Regions from separate parts of the Homo sapiens genome. Here regions 1, 2, 3 and 4 are each linked to region 5. Evidence: promoter capture Hi-C in 16 types of primary human blood cells and fetal thymus (Javierre and others, 2016). All regions are on one chromosome and are shown on one strand. The core of a region is centred on a gene start or on the middle of the fragment in contact, and the rest is flanking DNA. Distances in the headings are between cores, read along the strand shown. Region 1 has its middle 10 kb from the start of OXGR1. Region 2 has its middle 34 kb from the start of OXGR1. Region 3 holds the start of LINC00359 (long intergenic non-protein coding RNA 359). Region 4 overlaps LINC00359 (long intergenic non-protein coding RNA 359). Region 5 holds the start of UGGT2 (UDP-glucose glycoprotein glucosyltransferase 2).

Evidence for each region. Contacts are between HindIII fragments. The CHiCAGO score rates a contact against its expected background, and 5 or more counts as called.
Region 1: a contact is called between a fragment that was not itself captured here and the fragment with the promoter of UGGT2 in region 5, in 1 of 17 cell types (M1 macrophages). The highest score is 6.2, in M1 macrophages.
Region 2: a contact is called between a fragment that was not itself captured here and the fragment with the promoter of UGGT2 in region 5, in 1 of 17 cell types (monocytes). The highest score is 6.3, in monocytes.
Region 3: a contact is called between a fragment that was not itself captured here and the fragment with the promoter of UGGT2 in region 5, in 2 of 17 cell types (M1 macrophages and M2 macrophages). The highest score is 5.3, in M1 macrophages.
Region 4: a contact is called between a fragment that was not itself captured here and the fragment with the promoter of UGGT2 in region 5, in 2 of 17 cell types (M2 macrophages and endothelial precursors). The highest score is 6.7, in M2 macrophages.

What each region holds. Positions count from the first base shown.
Region 1 is chr13:97,003,434-97,006,133 of GRCh38, forward strand. No RefSeq gene overlaps it. Among named protein-coding and RNA genes, the nearest start is that of OXGR1, 10 kb to the left of the region's middle. The HindIII fragment of the contact is 1,651 bases long and covers 529-2,179 here.
Region 2 is chr13:97,026,865-97,029,688 of GRCh38, forward strand. No RefSeq gene overlaps it. Among named protein-coding and RNA genes, the nearest start is that of OXGR1, 34 kb to the left of the region's middle. The HindIII fragment of the contact is 2,836 bases long and covers 130-2,824 here.
Region 3 is chr13:96,983,927-96,986,626 of GRCh38, forward strand. It overlaps OXGR1 (oxoglutarate receptor 1), which reads right to left. Exons shown (of 4, transcript NM_001346194.2): 4 at 1,787-2,700. LINC00359 (long intergenic non-protein coding RNA 359) reads right to left here and starts at 246. Exons shown (of 3, transcript NR_051966.1): 1 at 134-246. RefSeq lists enhancers at 135-184, 225-304, 355-494. The HindIII fragment of the contact is 1,740 bases long and covers 570-2,309 here.
Region 4 is chr13:96,963,430-96,966,224 of GRCh38, forward strand. All of the region lies in intron 1 of LINC00359 (long intergenic non-protein coding RNA 359), which reads right to left. Among named protein-coding and RNA genes, the nearest start is that of LINC00359, 19 kb to the right of the region's middle. The HindIII fragment of the contact is 847 bases long and covers 885-1,731 here.
Region 5 is chr13:96,052,134-96,054,860 of GRCh38, forward strand. It overlaps UGGT2 (UDP-glucose glycoprotein glucosyltransferase 2), which reads right to left and starts at 1,268. Exons shown (of 39, transcript NM_020121.4): 1 at 1,022-1,268. The coding sequence starts at 1,179. RefSeq lists an enhancer at 1,030-1,529. The HindIII fragment of the contact is 2,877 bases long and covers 781-2,727 here.

The DNA of each region.
Region 1 (2,700 bases), core at 104-2,603, 950 kb after region 5:
TTGAAGAAATACATCCATATTTTGTTATTTTATTACATATTTATTTGAAAAGAAAATATTCTCACTCTGTTCTTTCATGACTTCTTTACATTAACCTGAAATTTTTTCATCTCTGTGGTTGTAACCCAGTGATTTCCATTTGGGTGGATAGCAGTGAGTTTGAGAATGTGTAAAGACAGTGTAGAGATGGAAGTGCTGGAAGACTTTCCTCCTGAAAACCAACCTTCCAGGCCAATTATGATAAAAGAACAGCTCAAGGGAAGTCTTGTTTTTTAAATCATGTTCTGTACCCAGTGGCTTTGGGCTTCAGTCACTTTCCTGTTGGGAGAGCTGAGCCCCAGGACAGTGTTCTCTCTGGTCATTATTACCTGGAGTGTGCACTTAACACAGTTCTTTCCACCATAGTCCTATGCACTTATTTAGACCTTGAGCAGGGCCAGCTATATAATTCACAGGTCTTAGTGTTGAAAATTTGAGGATCTTAGTTTAAAAAGCAGGAGAAAACTTCCTTTACAGGTGTTAAAATAAAGCTTTTCTTTTTTTTCCAGTCTTTCTCTTGACCTGCCATGGTGGGGTTTTTTATTTGGTAGGTAATATCATTCTAAGTTAAAGAAAAATTAAAATTTTAAAGTATTTGCATGAAATTTACTGTTGATATAGCGCAATGCCAGTTTTAAATGCAAGTACAAGAGTATTTAACTAGTATGAAGCATCTTCAGAATGATGCAAGTTGACTTTCAAAGCTCACATATGTATGTGTATTCCGTTTTTACCAGGATAATGGAAACACTCACTTTTTCATACACACATACTCTAACAATGCTGTCTCTCTCTTTGGCTTACTGATGAGTCAGAAAGACTGAAAGGAAGATGAACTATGGATTGCCCTATCCTTCCCTAATTCTGCGTCATTGTCAGTATAAGCCATTGGTTTATTCAGGGAAGTAACACAAGACAAGAGGGGACAGAGTTTTTGCACATTAATGTTTCTTAGGATGCCCTTACCTTCTTTCTGCATGTTAGGCAAGTGTTGGTTCAGACAGAAAGCAGGACCTATGGAGACTGTCAATGCCCCTTTTACCCAGATGTAGACCTAACACACTCACCCAGCACTTGCTTTAAGTATCGCTGAACTCTATGGCCTTGTGGGTCCACCAGAATTATCTGCTCACTGGGCATCGTGAATGCTATTTGTAAACAGGGCTGCAAGGAATGATGGTGAACATGCATATTACACATAACTCCTCTGTGACTCACATGCTCCATTGTCCTGTCACATTTCACTTACAAAACACAAGCTCGAAGATAACATGCTTAGGAATTTCAAGACAGCCACAACAGAACATCAAACCAAATGAGGGACCCTGTTAAGCGTGGGACGCTGGGATACTGCTCGGGTAGCACGCCCAGGAAGTCAGACCTGGCCTTCAGTTAGGAAGTCATTTGTTTGACTGTCTTCAGGTGCAACCCTGGAAAAGTTAGCAAAGTTAAGAACATTTTCAGAAGTATCAATTAAAAGGAAGCATTTAAGTCCCTATTTCTTATGTTTATAGCTGACAAGAGACATCAAATATTGGTTTATTTTTATTGAAGTCATCCAGATGGCTTCTGTTATCTCCGGTTCCCCGTTGGATGCCACAGACTGATTCTGTAAGTTATGAATGAGCTGGATGGTTGCCATCTTCTGTTGCAGTTTTTTCTCTGATTGACTGCATGCACACAAGCATCTCAACTCCTTTAGTCTTAGGTGGCACAGCCATCATCCTTTCTTCATTCTGGGTCATTCTAGCTCAGAGCCCTGAGTGATGATATATTTTGGACATTGCATTTGTACATGTGTAATTTCTTAGACACTTTCATCCCAGGTGGGCTCTGTGTACACTGGATGGCTCTCCATCCACAGGGGGACAAATTATAAATAATTATGTCTTAAGAGACAAAAGGGGAATTGAGAAGATCTTTGCAAATTTACCCAAAAGGAGCCATGTGGTCATTCCACAGCATTGTGTACACACACACACACACATACACACACACACATGGTTGGGGGGTGCAGGAAAAAGAGAGGGAGAAAAAAATGAGGAGTAAAAAATAACAGTTTCCCTCCCTGAGGGCTTTGAAATAGCAAATTATCTATTTGCAACTGACATTTTTTTAAGCTGGCTGTGTGTACAATTCAAGCTTTCATTTTATTATATTACTGGAAACCAGGGGTATACTAGGACTTTGCAAATAATCTGTTCTCAGACATAACAGGCCAGTTGACAACCACTCCTTACTTCTTTCACTTTCTTCAAATAATGATCTTGCTGCATATCAGTAGAAATAATCATGGGTAATGTGTACATGTTTCTCTAGTGAGCTGCATTCCTGCCACATGAGTCTTTTTGTGTTCTATGGAGAGCTTAGGAAACAAGCTCTTACCCCTCAGCCATTTTCCTGGGAGCAAGGAATGAAAATTAGACAGGTCTGTGGCATTCAGGAGCATAGTGTGCTGTGTTCCAAGGTTGGAGTAGTAGTGTTCATCCCTCCTCTCCTTGCCCTTGTGGACTGACCCCAGCCACACATGTGTGCAAGGATAAACAAAGGCCAGTCTAGGCTTGCCTCTACTGTTGCTGTCAGTCTCTCTCTCTCTGTTAGTGACCTATGCTCCACATGTAGCCAGATACCAAAGACGTGGTGCCTACAGCTCAGCAAGCC
Region 2 (2,824 bases), core at 298-2,797, 980 kb after region 5:
TAAATCATCACCAACAGACTGTAGAACCTTCGTTAAAGTTACTGCCAAGTGAGGACTCAGAAGGAAAGGAGGATTGTGTTATTGGAAAGTGGGGCAAAGGAGAGAATTCCCTTGTTAGGGAATGCAGAAAGCTTCCTGGAATTATGTCCTGCAGTTATGTGGGAAGCAGGAGCTTGTAAGAGATAAACTTGCGTATTTAGCTGAGGGTATGTCCCAGCAACATGCTCAGGAAATGACCTGCTTTCTTCTTCCTGCTTACAGTAAACTGCAAAAGGAGAGAAATAAATCGAGGGAACAACTAGTAAGTGAAATAAAACCAACACTCAGTGATTTGAAAAATTATGTTTATGCAGATTGCAAAAGTTCTAAAATTAGGAGATTTACCATCAGAAAGTGCACTCTGGAGGAGAAACCAAGAGTTTGGCTAGACAACCTTTTGCTAGTGCCTCAGAAGGATGCAAAGATCAGAGCATATAGTCACATCAGGGCTGGTTGAAGAGATTCAAGCATGTGTGACTCATGGGAGCCCTCAGCCATCTCCACAGAACCAAAAATGGAGATGGGGTTATTATTCTATTCCTCATTTGTAGGAGTTTTAATCACAAATTGGAGCCAGAGTTTGTCAAATTCTTTTTCTGCATCTACTGAACTCAGAATCATATGAATTTTCATCTTTATTCTGTTAACATGCTGAATAGCATCTATTTTCAAATGTTATCCTAACATTTCATTCCTGGAATGAACCCCATGATGTATTATTTCTTCTTTTATATTGACTGATTCAATTTGCTAATATTTTGTTAAGGATTTTCACTTGTATGTTCTTGAGTAATATTAACCTATAATTTTCTTTTCTTGCAAGGTTTATTTGTTGTTGTTTGTGTGTTCTTTATATTTTGATATCTGGATGGTACTGGCCTCATTAAATGAGTTGAAAATATTCCTTCTTCCTCTTCTGCTTTCCAAAATAATTTGTGTACAGTTACTATTATTTCTTCTTTAAGTGTTTGATAGAATTCACAGGTGAAATTATATGGACCTGACATTTTCTTTGAGGGAAGGATTTTGATAGCAAATTCAATCTCCTTAATAACATTTTCTGCTTATTTTGTATCAGGTTTGGGAGGTTTTATTTTTCATTTGAGTTTTTAAATTTATTGGCATAAAGTTATTTATATTATTTCTTTATTTTCCTTTCAATCACTGGAGTGATATGCTCTTTCATTCTTCATATTTCTAATTTTTGTTTTCTCTCCTTTCACTTAAAGAGTACTATCTATCAGTTTGGTTAATCTTTTTTTTTTTTTTTTTTTTTTTTTTTTTTTTTTTTTTTTTTTTTTTGAGACAAGTCTCGCTCTGTTGCCCAGCCTGGAGTGCAGTGGCACGATCTCTGCTTACTGCAAGCTCCACCTCCCAGGTTCAAGCCATTCTCCTGCCTCAGCCTCCCGAGTAGCTGGGACTGCAGGCGCCAGCCACCACGCCCGGCTAATTTTTTGTATTTTTAGTAGAGACGGGGTTTCACCGTGTTAGCCAGGATGGTCTCGATCTCCTGACCTCGTGATCCGCCCTCCTCGGCCTCCCAAAGTGTTGGGATTACAGGCGTGAGCCACCGCGCTCGGCCGGAAATCTCTCAATTTTTAGAACCCTATCCACATTTATGGGTGGGAGAGAGACATAGCATCTACCCTGACTTTCTACCTTCTTGGTCATTTGGCCTCTGGGAGATTCTTAAAAGCATTTCTACTCTCTCTCTTATCCTGAAATTTCTAGCCACAGGCCATATTTTGCTAGCATGTTTTGCTTACCTGCATACACATAAAAATGTGTAGCTGTCCAGTGTTTTGAATGGAACTGAGCAAAGCTACATAGCCAGTTTTCCTTTCTTTCTCTCTTTTATATTTTAAGAATTGCTGAGGAGGGCGGTTGTTTTGTTTTGTTTTTGTTTTACTTCCTTGTCAGGTCTGCAAAAAACTCCTTAAAGCCTCAATCCCATTTCCAGAAAATTTAATCACAAAATTAGGCATGTCTGCCCTCTAGTGGCAGGCCTGGTGATTACCATAGAAGCCGAATATTTTGACACCGGTTTTTGATGGAATTACCATCCAATAAGACGGCCACGTCAGATTGTGTTTAACCACCAAGCCATGACCTTTACTTCGTCTCTAATCTTCACTCTACATAAAAAGAACTTTCCTTTTTCTCTGTATCAATGTTTGAATTTATTCGTTTATACTAAATGTATATTACCTTTATGGTAAAAAAAAATATGGAATTAAAAAATATATGTTTATAACAGCCTTGGCCTTTAGGGAGGTAATAGTATGTTTAATGAAACTGTTGTAATAAAGGAGTTTTAATACTGAAAACATAACAGGTCATCACAGAGAGGAAACAATGTGAAACATTAAGTGATTTCTTACACACTTTGAAAATAGGAATAGGGTCCAAGTATTCTCTCTAGACCTGCCACCAACCTGCTTTCTACTAGAGAGCCAAATAAAGATTTTAAATCAGGGAGTAAAAGCCAGGCATAATATCCTTTTTTGGGGGGGAGGGGGATGGAGTCTCGCTCTGTTGCCTGGGCTGGAGTGCAGTGGCGTGATCTTGGCTCACTGCATCCTCCGCCTCCCAGGTTCAAGCAGTTCCCCTGCCTCAACCTTGGGAGTACCTGAGACTACAGGCATGCCACCGTGCCCGGCTAATTTTTGTATTTTTAGTAGAAATGGGGTTTCACTGTGTTGGCAAGGCTGGTCTCGAACGCCTGACCTTGCGTGATCTGCCCATCTCTGGCTCTCAAAGTGCTGGGATTACAGGCAAGAGCCAC
Region 3 (2,700 bases), core at 190-2,689, 930 kb after region 5:
ACCTGAAGGGTGGGATGTTGGCTATTGATGAAATTAAGACATGGGTTACATGAGGCCATTTGGCTCCTTTTTAAATTTTGTGACTGTTTGAAAATGTCCACAATAAAGAGTTACAAATAACGCAAGGGATTACCATGTCTCAGAAGTTTGGAACAGGTTTTTCTGGCTTCCCCATATGCAGGTGCAGTGAGCCTGACTTGCGCTTTCGGTTCTCACACAGCGAGTAGACCTGAGTAGCTGTGCCCTGGCGGACACAGTCAGAGCTCTGCTCTTTTGTTCTCATTCTGTCTTCCTCTGCCTAGGCCTGGTTGTATGCAGCAAGGTCACACAGTTCCCATTCTAGCCTGGGAAATATCATCAATCCCTTTTTTTGGCCTCAGTTCAAAACTGCCTCCTTCAGCACAAATAACCCAGAACTCTTAACTTTGTAAAATAAAACTCATCCTTTGAATTAAATTTAGCTTGGATCTCTGTGATTCTGTTCTATCGGAAGAACCCTAGAGGGCAGACTGTCATCTGCACCCAACCCACAGCTGTGGGAAGCAGATTAGGTAACAGAACGACATAAAAGCTTAATCAAGGGGAGGCATTTTTCGGATAATGGAAAATTATGCATGCTTCCAAGCTGAGGTCAATTATCCAGGGTAATAAAAATATTAAAAACGTGAGAAAGTGAGATTAAGTGTTGGAGCAAGGTCCCTAAGAGAGCAAAATAAAGACCAGAGATAAAGTGCAAGAATTCCTGCCAGAAGGATGATTTGTTTTTCTGTACATTGGTAGGAAGAAGGTAAAAAATAAAAGAAGCTACACAGATGAGTTGAGAAAGACATGAAGGATGTTGAAGTGGCTTTTCTCTGGTGGGTAAACTCTTTTTTTTTTTTTTTTTTTTGAGACGGAGTCTCGCTCTGTCGCTCAGCCTGGAGTGCAGTGGCGCCATCTCGGCTCACTGCAAGCTCCGCCTCCCCGGTTTACGCCATTCTCCTGCCTCAGTCTCCTGAGTAGCTGGGACTACCAGCGCCCGCCACCACGCCCGGCTAATTTTTTGTAATTTTTTGAGACAGGGTTTCACCATGTTAGCCAGGATGGTCTCCATCTCCAGACCTCGTGATCCGCCCGCCTCGGCCTCCCAAAGTGTTGAGATTACAGGCGTGAGCCACTGCACCCTGCCAACTCTTTGGAATAAGAAGGAATAAAGATGAGGAGAGAAAGAAAAGGGGTTTGTGCCCAAGGCTAGAATAACGACAGCAGTGGAATACAGGCAAGTCTGTCTGCACTTTAGTGATAGCCCAGGGGCTGGGCTAGGCATCGGGGAAAAGAAAAAGAGCTAGCAGTTCCAGGTGGACCTCTGAATACTTCTCGATGCTGTACAGCCAGGGCAGATGAGCAAATTGGGGTCCTCTAGTGAAATAGCTTATTCCACATGTTATAGAAAGGCTCAGAAGAAGATGGCTCAGAAGGTAGGGATTGCAAAAAGCACCATTGTCCAGAAAACTTCATGTTCAGATCCATCGGCTTGCTCTTCCTTCTCTCAACTTGCTCTGAAGAGGTTCCTGATGAATATCCTCACTTAAGTCTAAGTCAGATGTCATGTCCTAGAAGAACTGGAACATCAGGAAGAATTTCTATGGTACCCTTCCCTCTGTGTAAGTCAACTATTTCTGCCTTATTCTATAATATTATTGATTCTTAACTTATTTTTGTTCCTAACCATAGAGCAAATAAGTTTCATGTAAATATAATAGTGATAAAACTGCATTTTCACAGAAAAATATGACCAAACAGCCTATTACATAATTATAAATAAGTTTATTAACTGTACCAACATGTTTATGAGGGTTTTAAATATCCAGACCATGTGTTTTCTCAAATATTTATACTTACCGATAATTAAGCACACATACAATTCAAAAATATCTTTAGCTATCACATAGACATATGTTCATTGTAGTCATAAAAGAACAAGGAGTCTAAAGAGAATTAGCGTTTCCTGGAATATTTTCCCACAAAAATCAAAACAGTGTTAGATATGATTGAACACCCAATACATACATGACATCTGAAAGTGACTTCTGTCCTAGAAAGTTTCCCTTCCTTCCCCAGGACATGTTAATAATGATGAATACAATTTGATAATTTTCATACATTCAATAAAAACTTTTTAACAACAATAAAGACATAATACTCCAAATATATTGCAGGTACTAATTTCAACTATTTGCATGGACGTCCTTGGATTATTTCAAGGGTATCTTACTGGCTTGAAGTAATATACAGAACTGGCTAAACCCAGTTTTATAATCTCAAAGTTAAGCTTGAAGGAAACAAATTGTAGAGCTCTGAGATGTAAAAAATAAATATTAAGAAAGATACAAGTAGTGGTTTGAATTGTCTAATGGTTCAATACAAATAGGCCCAGAGTGCAGAGAAGCATGAAATGATGAGTGAAAAGATTGGTTTTCTCCTATCTTGGCACAAATTTACTGAGCAATCTAGGGCAAGGGTAAGAAATTGGTTTCCGTGTATATATAGTAAGTTGGTGGGAACAGATGTTCTCTAAGATGCCTCTGAGTTCCAATAGCTTGTAATACTATGTCTGAATACTTTGCTGATATACATGCATCCCATTCTTATATCTCCCCAGTGGAGGAGCTCAATAAAGGGATTGCAAAGAACTAGAAGCTCTGCCCTGGCTTTGGCACA
Region 4 (2,795 bases), core at 58-2,557, 910 kb after region 5:
CACACCATGCAAAAAATCAACCCAAAATCGATAATTAAATGTAAGAGCTGATTAAATGTAATTAAATGTAAAAGCTAAAACTGTAAGATTTCTAGAAGAAAACAGTGGAAAATATTTGTGACCATTGACTAGGCAAAGAGATTTCTTACAGGGAAGAAAAAGCACAAACTATACTATCAACTGAACTTTATCAAAATTAAAACCTTTTGCTCTTTAAAAGACATTTTTAGACAAATGAAATATCAAGTTACAAACTGGGAGGAAATATTTGCAAACTATATATCTAATAAAAGACTTATATCCATAATATATAAAGAATACTTAAGATTCAATAATAAAAGACAGATAACCCCTTTATAATTAGGCAAACTTTACAAAAGAAGATACACAAATTGCCAATGTGCATATAAAAAAGATGCAGCATTTTTAGTCATCAGGTAAATGCAAATTACAACAACGTGCTATCACTACACACCCACTGGAATGGCAACATTTAAAAAAAATTACAGTACCACCTGCTGGCAAAGGAATGAAGCAACTAGAATGCTTATTCATTGCTGTTGAGAATGGAAAATTGCACAGCCACCTTGGAAAGCAGTTTGGCAGCTTCTAATAAAACTAAACACACCTTTACCATGTGAACCAGCAATTTTATCTCTAGGTATTTACCCTAAGGAAAATATATAGTCACACAAAGATTTGCACTCAAATATTTATAGAAGATTTATGTATAACAGCCAAAAAGTGGAAACTACCTGTTCCCTTCATATGGTGAAATGTATAAATAAATTCAGTCATTTCTGCACAAATGGAATACTAATCATCAACAAAAAGGAAAGAATCACTGACACAGCAAAAAAAAAAAAAAATTGACAAATCTCTAAAGCTTTATGCTAAGTGGAAGAAGTTCAAAAACAAGATGACACAGTATACCATTATAGAAAATTTTAGAAAATGAAGAGAACAGATCAGAGATCCTCAGGGACTGGATGTGAGGGAAGAGAACTCACAGAAAAAGAGCACGTAGAACTTTTTAGACTGATAAAAAATGTTCTATATCATGATTGTGGTGCTGACTACACAGCTGTGTATATTTTTCAAAACACAATTAATGGTACATTTAAAGTTGATTAATTTTATTGTATGTAAACTATACCAAAGCAAAACTAACTTTTTAACTAATTAATTTGTTGTCTTTCTGCCAACGAAAGCAATGGTCTTCAAGCTCTTCCTGTAAGGGGCCTGATAGGCTTTGTGGTCCATACAGTATCTGTTGCAGGTATACAAGTCTGTAGTTATAGTATCAAAATAGATGATACGTAAGGAAATAAAACATCACTGATGGACAGTTAAATTTAAATGTTGTATAATTTTCATGTGTCAAAAATATTCTTTTGATTGTTTTCCAACCATTTAAAAATGAAAAAATCATTTAGTTCGTGGGCCATATAACAACAGAGAGTAAACTAGATTGGGTTAACGGGCCACAGTTTGCTGACCCCAAGATAGGGAATTCTGTACAACATTGAATAAAAATAACAATAGTGAACATCGTCATTTTGTTTCTGATATTAAGGAAAGGCTGTTGATGATTTACAATTAAGTACTATATTTATTAGAGGTTCCTTGGTAGATAGGTAGGCTAAGGAGGTTCTCTTCTATTTCTAGTTTGCTAAGAGTTTGTATCAAATGTGTATGTCAAATTTATTAATATTTTCCTATTTATTAAGAAGCTTATATTGTTTTCTTGTTTAGTTCATGAATAAGGGGAATTACATAAATTGATTTTAATATTTAACCAATCTTACATTCCTGAAATTGAAAACTCATTTTAGGTATGTTGTATTGTTTTCTGCTAAAAATGCATTATTGATTTAGTTTTTCTTTTTTTCTTTTTTAGGACTTTTTACATCAGTGCCTAAAAATGTGTTTATTTTATTGTATGTAATACAATAAAAACTCGTAAGTTTTTCTTCCTTCTACTGTTCTTTTTCCAGCTTTTGTTAAAAGCTAGCCTATTATCCATGTTTCCATTCATAATATTTTATGGAAAACTGAAATTTGACTCTTTTTGCATCTTTGATAGAAGTTACTTGCATGTTCATATAGACTTAGTGTTTCTTAACTGGAATATCTGAAATTTCTAATTCTATTTCTTTCTTTCTTATAGCTCTGTTCCATTTTTTAAATTTATTCATAAGTTAGTAAGTTGTTTTAAATGTGTCTTAAAATCTACAGACAAAAATCTACCAATGTGTCTATACTCTATATTTGTCTCTTTAAAAGAGCACACATTATACTACTTTTGGTGTAGTCTGAAAGTCTTTATTTTTTAACTGGAACATTTAGTGTTTTTACATTTATTGTGATTACTGACATATTTGTATTTATTCTTCTATCTTATTTTATGGCTTCTGTTTGTTTCTTATGCTTCTGTTTCCCTCCTCTTTCTTGATTTCATTTGGGTTAATTGATATTTATTTATTCATTCATTTATGTATTTATTCATCTTTTAAAACTCTCAGGTAAACAGAATTAGATTAATAATACTCCTTGGTTCATGACAGATTCTCATCACTGGTCTATGCAAAGTCTTCCTTTGCCTAATTTATTTCTTTGCTTGTTTATTAAGACAATAAACACTTGTGATCTATTAACCCAATTAAAGATAAATAATATTGACACTAACTTACCTATGTCTTCTGTGCTACTCCTCCTATGCTCTCTTTTTCTTGTTCCATATTTTCCTTCCATTGCCTTAGATTTTAAATTCTTTAAATTTATTTTTTGAGATT
Region 5 (2,727 bases), core at 18-2,517:
GCCATAAAAAGGAATCAATTAATGGCATTCACAGCAACCTGGATGAGATTAGAGACTATTATTCTAAGTGAAGTAAGTCAGAAATGGAAAACCAAATATAGTATGTTCTCACTGATATGTGGGAACTAAGCTATGAGGATGCAAAGGCATAAGATTGACACAATGGACTTCGGGGACTCGGGGGAAAGGTTGAGAAGGGAGTGAGGGATAAAAGACTACAAATTGGGTGCAGTGTATATACTGATGGGGTGATGGGTGTACCAAAATCTCAGAAATCACCACTAAAGAACTTACTCATGTAACCAAACACCACCTGTTCCCCAATAAACTATAGAAATGAAAAAAAAAAAGAACTTTTAGCATCAAATACATGAACTTATGTGGAGTCATGGAGTCTCTTTTTAGGGACACACACTGTTGCTGTGGTGAACAGCCATTAAGTCATTGGTGTAAAACTTCATTTTTGCTAAGAGAAAGAACTTTCTAATTTTACTCAACTAGAATACTAAAGGGCAAAATGCAATAGCTACAAGTTTTGTTCTGCAGAGTAAATGACAGGTCATGAACTAATTCCGTTGGAAGAGATACAGGAAAAATATTACCTTGCAGGAAGCTGCCCTCCCCATAGTAAGCCTAGGAGCTGATGGTATGATGTCATCATTACGAAACTAGGTACTTTAAGCACTGTCTGAACAGAACTGCCTACCCCAGTAGAAGCTCTTGCGTTAAGTGCCACGCGTAAATGCTAATACATCCCAACGTATTAAAGCAGGGCAGGGAAGCTTTAAAAATCGTAGGTAAAGTAAGACTGAGGGGGAAAGGAACTGCAAGTGAGTGCTGCACGGGAACCGAGAAGCCGCCCCGGGTCGGGAAGGAAGGAGGTGGTGATGCTCAGGGCCAGAGCGGGGGCGTCTGGAGAACCCGGGTGGGAGCCAGACACCCGCTGCGAGCACGAAGAAAGCGCGGCTGAGGGTGGCAGCGCGCCCACACCCGCCCGGACGAGGGCCCGGCCCGCACCCACCTTGCCTCCAGCAGCAGCGGGGTCTCGGGCCACTTCGCGGCCAAGTGGGCAGTCACCGACTTGGACGCGGCGACCGTCCCGGAGCCGAGCTGCGAAAGCCACAGCGCTGTGGAGCCTAGTAGCAGCCGCACCACGTTCGTGGCTTTCGCTGGCGCCATGGCACGGAGAGAAAAGCGCGAGTCCCTCGGACCCGGTACCCACAGTCTGTGGCCGCCACGCTTCGGCCGGCTCTTCCCGCTGCGCGGCTGCCCACTTCCGGTGGGAGGAGCTCGAGTCCGTTACTGGGTGCCGGGTCCAGACCGGCGCATGCGTGTCCCGCTCCGGCGCGGTTTAGTGGGTGCGGCCTGGAGAGCCCACGCCAGCCGGACACTGGGCCACGTCGGAGCCGCCGGGGCGGCGCCGGGTTGCTGAGCGGCGTCACAGATGCTCCCGCGGGTCCGCTCCCGCGGGTCCATTCCCAGGACTTTGGGTTCTCGGACAGAGGCCTTAGGACACGGGGCGGGAAGCTGGCTCTCCAGACCGAACTAGGGCTCTGGAGTTGCCAAAATCTGGAAGCAAAGTCAGGACCACTTGCATATTGTCCACCTTTTACATAGGAGGAAAATAAGTCCAGTTAAAGTTGAAGTCCCCACCTCACGCAGTTCTCAAGTGTTACTACAGGTTGGAATCACCTGGGAGAGCTTTTATAAGGCCGCCGCCAAGGCCACGCCCCGTACCTGAGAATCTCGGGAGGGGGGGTGAGATGCGGCATCAGTAGTATTAGTTAAAATCCGCAGGCCGGGCGCGGTGGCTCACGCCTGTAATCCCAGCACTTTGGGAGGCCGAGGCGGGCGGATCACGAGGTCAGGAGATCGAGACCATCCTGGCTAAAACGGTGAAACCCCGTCTCTACTAAAAATACAAAAAATTAGCCGGGCGTAGTGGCGGGCGCCTGTAGTCCCAGCTACTTGGGAGGCTGAGGCAGGAGAATGGCGTGAACCCAGGAGGCGGAGCTTGCAGTGAGCCGAGATCCCGCCACTGCACTCCAGCCTGGGCAACAGAGCGAGACTCCGTCTCAAAAAAAAAAAAAAAAAAAAAATCCGCAGGTGATTCCAGTGTCCAATCATGTTAGGAAACCCGTGACTTACGGGTGGCTCTCAAACTTTAACCACTTGCTTGTTAAAACACTGCAGAGTGGTGGGCCTCCCCACAGTGTTTCGGATTCAGTAGAGCCCTTGCGGGGGCCGAGAACTTGCATTTTATTTCTCCCAAGTTCGCAGATAATACTAGTGGCTAGAAATCACACTGGAGCCTTTTCCATTGGAAGGTGTGGTCCAGGGTAGGCTTCAGCTGTGAGCTCAATGGAAATGCAGAAGCTCAGGCCCCGCCCCAGACCTAATGAATCAAGATCTCCAATTTAACGGGAACCACAGGTGATTCCTATGCACAGGAAAGGTGGAGAAGAGTGATTTAGAGGATTACATTTAAAAGTGCACAGAAAAGTGCCAATAAGCCTGAGCATGGTGGCTCACGCCTGTAGTCCCAGCACTTTGGAAGGTCGAGGCGGGAAGGTAGCTTAAGCCGAGGAGGTAGAGGCTGCAGAAAACGGTGATTGCGCCACTGCCCTCCAACCTGGGCGAAAGAGGGAGACCGTGTCTCAAAAAAACAAACAAACAAAAGGCCAATACGTGATAGTTGTTTTGTCAGAGTAAAATATATGGTAAAAG